Regions from separate parts of the Homo sapiens genome. Here all the other regions are linked to region 3. The links are contacts of gene promoters, found by promoter capture Hi-C in blood cells and fetal thymus (Javierre and others, 2016). All regions are on one chromosome and are shown on one strand. The core of a region is centred on a gene start or on the middle of the fragment in contact, and the rest is flanking DNA. Distances in the headings are between cores, read along the strand shown.

Evidence for each region. The method cuts DNA at HindIII sites, captures the fragments that hold promoters and counts their contacts. A CHiCAGO score of 5 or more calls a contact.
Region 1: a contact is called between a fragment that was not itself captured here and the fragment with the promoter of KLHL32 in region 3, in 8 of 17 cell types (total B cells, total CD4 T cells, naive CD8 T cells and 5 more). The highest score is 14.7, in total B cells.
Region 2: a fragment that was not itself captured here is called in contact with the fragment with the promoter of KLHL32 in region 3 in 8 of 17 cell types (total CD4 T cells, non-activated CD4 T cells, naive CD8 T cells and 5 more); the score reaches 10.8 in total CD4 T cells.

What each region holds. Positions count from the first base shown.
Region 1 is chr6:95,588,873-95,591,572 of GRCh38, reverse strand. All of the region lies in intron 2 of MANEA (mannosidase endo-alpha), which reads right to left. Among named protein-coding and RNA genes, the nearest start is that of MANEA, 13 kb to the right of the region's middle. The HindIII fragment of the contact is 295 bases long and covers 1,234-1,528 here.
Region 2 is chr6:95,561,781-95,564,480 of GRCh38, reverse strand. All of the region lies in intron 2 of MANEA-DT (MANEA divergent transcript), which reads left to right. Among named protein-coding and RNA genes, the nearest start is that of MANEA-DT, 14 kb to the left of the region's middle. RefSeq lists a silencer at 1,694-1,988. The HindIII fragment of the contact is 1,164 bases long and covers 762-1,925 here.
Region 3 is chr6:96,923,298-96,925,997 of GRCh38, reverse strand. KLHL32 (kelch like family member 32) reads right to left here and starts at 1,270. Exons shown (of 11, transcript NM_052904.4): 1 at 972-1,270. RefSeq lists a silencer at 1,234-1,543. The HindIII fragment of the contact is 7,655 bases long and covers 1-2,700 here.

The sequences.
Region 1 (2,700 bases), core at 132-2,631, 1.3 Mb after region 3:
CTAAAAAACAAAATAGAAAAAAGAAAAAAAGAAAAAAATTAAATGCAGCCAGAAAACAACAACAGCAACAACAAAACATATCCATCCAAGAAAATGAGGATATAAAAAGATTTTTTTAAATTACGGCAGACTACTCATCAGAAACCATGAAAGACTGAAGAAAAAGAAGAAAAAAAGAAATGGAATACATTTTCAAAATTCCAAAAGAAAACAATCCCCTAAAACCTGCCCATTGAGAATTCCATAGGTGATGAAACATCTTTCAAAATAAAGGCTACAAACAAAATTTGAAAATATTCATTGCAAGGAGACCAGTAAAACAAGATAAAAGAAATTTTTAAGAGAGAAAGAATATGATATTAGACATACACTTGGATCTACATTAAAATATGGATGGGGAACAGTAGAAATGGAATAAATGTAAAAAACATTCTTACTTTTAATCACTGTGAAAAACAACTGATTATTGAAAAGAGTGATCAGCAAACTATGACCCATCGGCCAAATCTTGCCTTTTACAGGCCAATTCATCTATATATTTGTCTATCTATTGCTTATAACCATTTTCACACTATAAGGATAGAGCTGAGTGGTTGCAAAGAGAGAGAGTGAGGGACTCACAAAATCAAAAATATATATTAGGCAGTCCTTTACAGAAAATGCTTGCCAACCTCTGGCCTACAGCAATGATAGTAAAATACCATTTCTTATGTGACAGAATTACGACAATAGCAAACTATGGGAGGGAAACATAGGGAATATCAGTGGTGAAGACCTTACATTACACATTAAGTATATATTATTTGCAAGTAGACTGTCTCCTTGCAATGAATACTTTCAAATTTTTTTTGTAGCCAAAGGTTGGGCATCTATAGCAATATGAAAGCTTTATGGAATATCACCACTCTACAGTTATAAATATAACCTTTAAACTTAATGCAAATAGTTATTATAAAAGGAAATTTTATGACATCATATTAGATGTTATTAGGTACATTTAAACTTTATGTGTCTAATTCATCTCATTGTGACTTCTACTTTTATGTATAAATTTTTAAAGGCAGGAGATGCAGAAGTAAGAATTGTAACCTTACTAAAACAAATATGTCATACTTTCAGGAAATATTCTAATGTTGAAATCCATCCAGTGTTTTTAAAGCAACAATGATGAAAACAAAGGAACTGGGAAATGTGACTTGCTCATTTTTATGTCCCTAGAATCTAGCACAAGCTTGGAACGTCATGGAAAATCAATAAATATTTAGTGCTAAACTGAAACAATGGGAAGATAATTTTAAAGTCATAGAGTACATTATGTTTTGCTAAATGTAGCAGTTCTCTATTTTGCCATAACAAACTATCACAAATTTAGTTGCTTAAAACAACGTAAATTTATTACCTTACAGTTTTGCATGTCAGGAGTGTTGACATGGGTCTTAATATGCTAAGATCAAGGCCAGGTATTGGACTGGATGACATTCCTTTCTGGAGGCTCTAGGAAAGAATCCCTTTCCTTGCCATTCAAGCTTGTAGAGGCTACCACATTCTTTGGCTCATGAACTTCTTGTTCCATCTTCAAAGATAGCAACAGGGGGTCGAGTCTCTCGTGCATCCCTCTGACTCTCTTTTCCCTCTTCTTCTATTTATAAGGACTTATGTGACTAGATTAGCTGTACCCAAATAATGAAGGATAATGCCATCTCAAGTTCAGATGATTAGCAATCTTTTGCACCTGCAACCCTAATTCCCCTTTTGCCAAATAAAATAATATATTCACAGATTGTGGGAATTACGATGTCCACATCAGAAAATGGGGGCTATTTTCTGACCAGTCTACTAAAGTTTTAGTAAACTGTATAAAAAAAAGAAGGCATTCATCTGTTACTTTTAGAGTTGTAATACAGCAATACAAGAGGATAGAATACATGATACGTAATATTTTACTTAAAAGACTTGAAAAGGATACAAATCTACCATATGCCATTGTAATATATCTGATACATTATATATAATAATTGGATTTTAAACATAACATTAATAGTTCATTTTAATTTTATCATTCTTTTCAATGAAGGGTTGAGCCATTAGGATTTATGCCAACCACACTTAATTGTAAAAGCAGAAAATCAACCAACTTGTACTCTGCGATATAACAGCATAATTACTTCACACAGCAATTCAACTTAAGATAAAAAGAAGGCCATTTATATCAAAGGAAAAATATGAATGTTAAATATGTAGTCAAAGCACAGTCAACCATACAACAATTTAAACAGCCTTCATTTACTATCTTCTTCAATCCAAAGAATGCCTGAGTCAGCATGCCAGCTCCATGGATTAAATTAGGGTTTTGAGTCAGTATTCCAACAGTCAAATTATTTTCTGCCTGGTAACAATGAGTATAATTCAATATTTAACTCATTAAGAAATTATTTCTTTATTTATAAATTGATTATGTCACTTTTATTATCAAGTTTATTTTTTAATTTTGTCTAGGAGAAAATCCATCAAAAAGTAAAATATTTGCATCCGTAGTGAAGCTGTCAACATTTAAAATTGAAATGACTGTATTACTGTCAATGTTTAGAAATAATTAATGTTCATATACATGATACAATACTAAAATATTATACAGGGAAAAAGGTCTTTATAAATATGAATAGGCATAAAAATGTTTACTGAAACTTTTCTTCCTGATCA
Region 2 (2,700 bases), core at 94-2,593, 1.4 Mb after region 3:
GGTCCTAATATTATTTCTCTTACTTTTCTTAAACTCCACAATTCCCCTGTAGACTTCTCTTTCTTGGTCTAGATCTTAAATAGACTCTCTTCTGTCTAGGCGCTCTCTCATATGACACATACTCACTGTTGGAAGTCTCTTTTCATTTTCATGCCTTCAATAACCACTTTGTGCTCTTCTGGTCCATATCTCAGTGGAAAGTATCCTTATACATCTTATAGATCAAGACATCATTATAGATCTTATAGATCAAGCCATAATTTTTGGCCTCTTTTTTCCCCTCAGAGAAAATACAAATCTTTCAAAATATATTTAACTTTTCTCTATTTCTTTCCCTATTTAACTTTTCTCTATTTCTAATATCACCACTCCAATGAAATGTTTTATTATCTTTCATTTAAGATCTCTCATTCTGATTGATCTTTCACCTGCCTTTGGCCTTTCAATACGACCTCCACACTGCAGTCAGAATGATCTTTCTAAAAATCAAATTGATCATGTGATTCCTGTCCTTATAACCTTCCAGTACTTTCTCTGTCTCTCAGGATAAAGTCCAAATTCTATAACACAACATATAGAACCCTTATGGATTTGGCTGGTGAGCCCTTTCACTCTCAAAACTCACTACTCCATACTCCCTTCACTTTAGCTGTCATGAACAATTTTCTGTTTCTAGACTTATTTGTGTGCCATGTTTGTTCTTACACCCACACTACTGTTCTCTCCTTCTCCCCTTTACATGGCTAATTACCATTCAAGCTTTAGTGCTCAACTTAGACATTACTCCTTTTAAGAAATTTTTCTGACACCCAAGTTAAGACTAGGTTCCCCATTTTGTTCTTTCATCCTGTCCCAAACTCATTATATCTTGGCCTTATCATGTTGCATGGTATTTGTCTGCTTACTTATATGCATGTGTGTCTCTTAATTGTGTGCAAACTTCTGCGGGAGAATCACCTTATCTACCTCTTTCACTGATTACCCCCAGCAAAAGGACCTGATACAAAGGAGGTATTTGATAAATACAACAATGAATAAATGAACAAATGAACATCTGAATGAACAGGTAGAGACATTTGGGAAGGTAGAAGATGATGCTCTCAGTATTGGGCATATTGCTTTGACTAAAGGCATTACCAGAATATTCAAGCAGGAGCAGGAAATCATCTGCATGGGTAAACCAGAGCTTATGGGAAGTACAAAAGTAGAGAGTGAGATCTGAGAGCCATCCACAAAGTAGAGAGAATTGAAGCCATAAGACTAGATGAAATTGGATATAGAAAATATAGATGAAAAGAGAAGACAGGTAACGATGAAACATTTGGAAATACCTATATCAATTTTTAGCTGAAAGCACAGTACACCTGAAATCAAGTGAGTAAAAACTCCATTAACGATTCTAGGCCAAAAAAAAGGACTCCAGGCAGTTAAAAATTAATAAGAATTAATGTTTGAGAAGAAGAAGCTGTTGACAATGACTTCCAGACAAATAAATGTATTAAACACTGGTATACCTAAACACTTTGACTACCTAATGCTCTTAATTACCTGGTAATTAAAGGCTAAAATGTCTAAAGGAACATGAAAATAGTGAGCCTACATGGTGTAGGAGCCATGGCTAATCAGTCTACTTTGAACTTGAAGTAATTTACTTTAAAACAAATCAAGGAAGATGCATTGCTTCTTCCGAAGAGTAGTGTGACATTTCAGAAAGTAAATACAAGAAATTCTGGCACTTCATAATTTTCAGTAGGGAGGAATGAAGGCAATGGCAAACACAGCCTAGAGCAAGCCAGACCCTTACTTTCTCTGATAAGCAGCTTTTGGAATTATCTGCACTGGGAGATGTACAAGAAAGTAAGCTACTCAAAAAGGAAATCAGCATGTGGTAACTTTTCTCTGATCTACCGATTCTTCCTAAAGCTTGGGCACTAACCTTGAAAAGGCAATTGGATACCATGATATTCCTAGACTGAAGGCTGGGCCAAATGGAAAAGGAGATACAGAGAACTGGTCCCTAGTACAGTAACCTTATAAATGACAGAGAGGAAATCATACACAGATTAAATTGTTCCACTAAATCTGCTCATGCCATACCCTCCTTTTAATTCTTTTTAGAATGCTGGATTATTAAAACTTACACTAATTGCCTTTCCAGTTTAAAACGTTAGAGAGATGTTCCAAAAATATACTTGGCATATTGTATGTATATACATACATACGCATATGTGTGTGTGTGTGTGTGCGTGCAATGTGTAATGTGTAGTACACCTGAAATATATTTCAGGGGTGCAATGAAGACATCGAAAAGGTTTTCTCCCATGTGCTGTTTGGACAAATACCAGGCCATAAATGACCCCTCTTCATTCAAGAAGGAGAAACAAAGATAAAAATACAAAAAGGAATTGATTTTTCTAATAACAGTAGCAGAACAAAACTGTCTAAAGATTGTTCTCAAAAAATCTTCCTTGAGAAACAAAAATTTTTTAAACGTGCCTGTATTATACTGTCAAAAAAATTCACAAGGACTCTTACAGCAAAAATATAAGATGAAGTGATGAACAAAATACTGAGTTCAAATTCTACAAAACACTCTTTAATATTCCTTAATTTTATGGGATTTGGGCTGAAGATGCATATTATACGTGAGACTTCATTCCCCACCACCTGTCAAAGCAAGCGACTATGGACGTCAGACTG
Region 3 (2,700 bases), core at 21-2,520:
AGTGTTCCAGTAGAGGACCCAGTCCCATCAGAAAAAAAACAAAAAGCAAAAACCACTGCACTTTCATATAAGCTCTAGTAAGCCATGGCACACATTTTATATCTATCTCTATCTGTGTATAGAGATAGATCTAAAAATAATCAATAAGAGATTTTTTAAAAAACAGAATCTTCTCAGAAATGAGCAGAGGTGCAAAAAACTGCGCTTCAATACTGATGCAGGGGATATAAAAATGCTAGCAAAGATGTATGTCATGAATGCTACCTTCTTACGTTACGAATTCACAAACGTATTCCTGTTCTGGTCAATTTACAATAGAAGCTCATTCTTGTGTGGGGAAACACAATTAAATCATCTGCTTTTAATTTAAAATAATCACGACTAAGTGAACTGCAAAATAAAACTGGAAATAGAGGGGAAGAAGGGATCTAAACTGCAGTCATCTTTCTTTATAAGATCACCAAAATGGGAGTAAATTATGATTCAAGACACAATCCGTTGAAAAATTCATCTGACGAATCCTTTTTAAAGCATACCATATAGTGCAATTACGGCTTTTCTTGAAGTTGAATGAAACCGCCACCTGAATACAGATTAACAAATGCCAAATTACGAAAGGTCCTCAGTGTATATTTTATTTTAAATATCAAAATAAATAACGGCATCATTTAAGAAACCAGTTCTTTCAATAGATGTCCCACGGCTGATGTTTAAGCAAGTCTCCTTGGCAACCAAGGAGCACAGTACATATTGGGCTCAGGGGGAGGGAAGAAAGGGGGAGCGACTCCAGGGCTGGCAGCATAAGTAACCTGAGTAGTGGCTGCTCCCGTTAGACGACACGGGCAGAGGCTGCATGGGCTGCAAGCCCCTGAAATGTCAACTCCGGGTCTGCCCCCACTTGGCGCACCAGCAGCCTCCCACCCTCTTCCTCAGGTCTGCAGAACAGGTTACAAGGAGAGAGACTGGCTTACCCGATGGGGTGAGCGGTCTGCTGGGTTAGGTGCCAGAGACGGCAGCGCAGGCACCGGCCTCTCCTTGATGCACAATGGCTCTGCTTCGCCCCACGATGCTGAGGTTAACAGAACCCGCAGTAGCTTCGCTCTGCTGGTTCGGGGATGCAGTAGCGAAGACGAGCGTCCTAGCGTGTTTGTGTGTGCGAAAGTGTGTGTGTGTGTGTGTGTGTGTGTGTGTGTGTGCCTGCGTGCGTGTGTGCGCGCGACTGCCTGCGCGCTCCCGAACTGTCGCGCGGGGAAACTGCTCCCTAGTAAATAAAAAGCCCTAGCCAGCACTGCAGGTGGCACGTCCCGCTGACTCCGCCCCAGGCGGTCGCGTCAGACTGGAGACGCACCTTGGCACCCCCGGGGCGGGTTCAGACGCCACAGGGCTCCGCCCCCTCCCGCCTCCAGCTAGCCCGCGCGCTCCCTCCCCCTCCCCCGCGATCCCGCGCACATCCTTTCGCCACCCCGCGCGCAACGCCACCGCCCGCCGCCAGCGCGCTCGCTCCCCTGCCGCCCCCCGCCCCCGCCCCCGCCGTCGGCGAGCTGCCAGCGCGCGCCCGCCGGTCCCGGAAGTACCCTCCTCCACGCCGCCCTCCTCCTCGCTCTCCGGCACCTGCGTCGCCGGCCCCTGGGTCACATGCGCAGTCTGTAGCCACCACTGCGGCGACTGAGACCCGGGAACCCAGCCTGCTCGCCCCCAGACTCCTTTCCCAGGGCTGGCGGGCAATCTGAGCAAACAGACCCCGTGGCCCTAACTCGGTGTTCCAGGGAGTCCTTGCTCTGCTAACTTGTGAAGTTCAAGTTGCCTCTAGTCCTAGCGGCCCTACAGTGGCCCTCCTTAGGATAATACACTCTATGGTACTGACCAGAACAAATTCACAGTAACTTTAAGAAACGTCAGGGGAACCAACCCGCCAGAGGTGGACGAAATCCCCAAGCCTGAGAAATGAGAAAGGGTGTGATTACTGTGGTTACTACTAATTCAGCAATAAAACCGCAAACAGACAACAACCACAGAACCATACCATTAAATTCCAGGGCCTGGCACACTCAAGTGCCACTTCCGAGTCATTCAGGTCACTCCTGTGTAAAACATGCTGAGAAACTCACACTAAAGCAAAGTGGGTAATTTTAATAGGTAAGTATTCCACCACCGAATTGAAAACCTTAGTCCAACGTGGAGGTAAGACACCAGAAGCAGGAAGAGTGTAACTAAATTGGAGTAAACTGTATTTTGTAGAAGTTCAGGATTTAACTTACTGCAAAGATAGTATGTTAATCCTATTTCTTGCAGGTTTATGTTCTGCCACAGAGTTGGGCTAGGAACAGTGCCCTGATCTATTTTGAGGTGTCCTTAATGTTCTCATTGGTCTCAAATCAGTGGTTCAGCGATTATTTTCTACTTCTAGATCCACAGGATTTGGGGGTTTATTCGTTTGCTCCCTCTGGAGGTTATCTGTCTGGCTTGTAGTGCTTCATTTTCATGGTTTTGATATCTGGACGCTAGGATGCTGGGTACCTACTTATCTAGCAGTCCTGGACACAGCATAGGACAAGGGAAAGAATGACAAACAACTGACTACAAACATTAGGTGCAGTGTCATCCTAAGAATTTTTCATAAGCAACTTGATAGTTTTCATTGCGTTGTCTTCTATCAGAAAATCGAATATGAAAGCGTCTTTGAACCAAAAATATTGACAG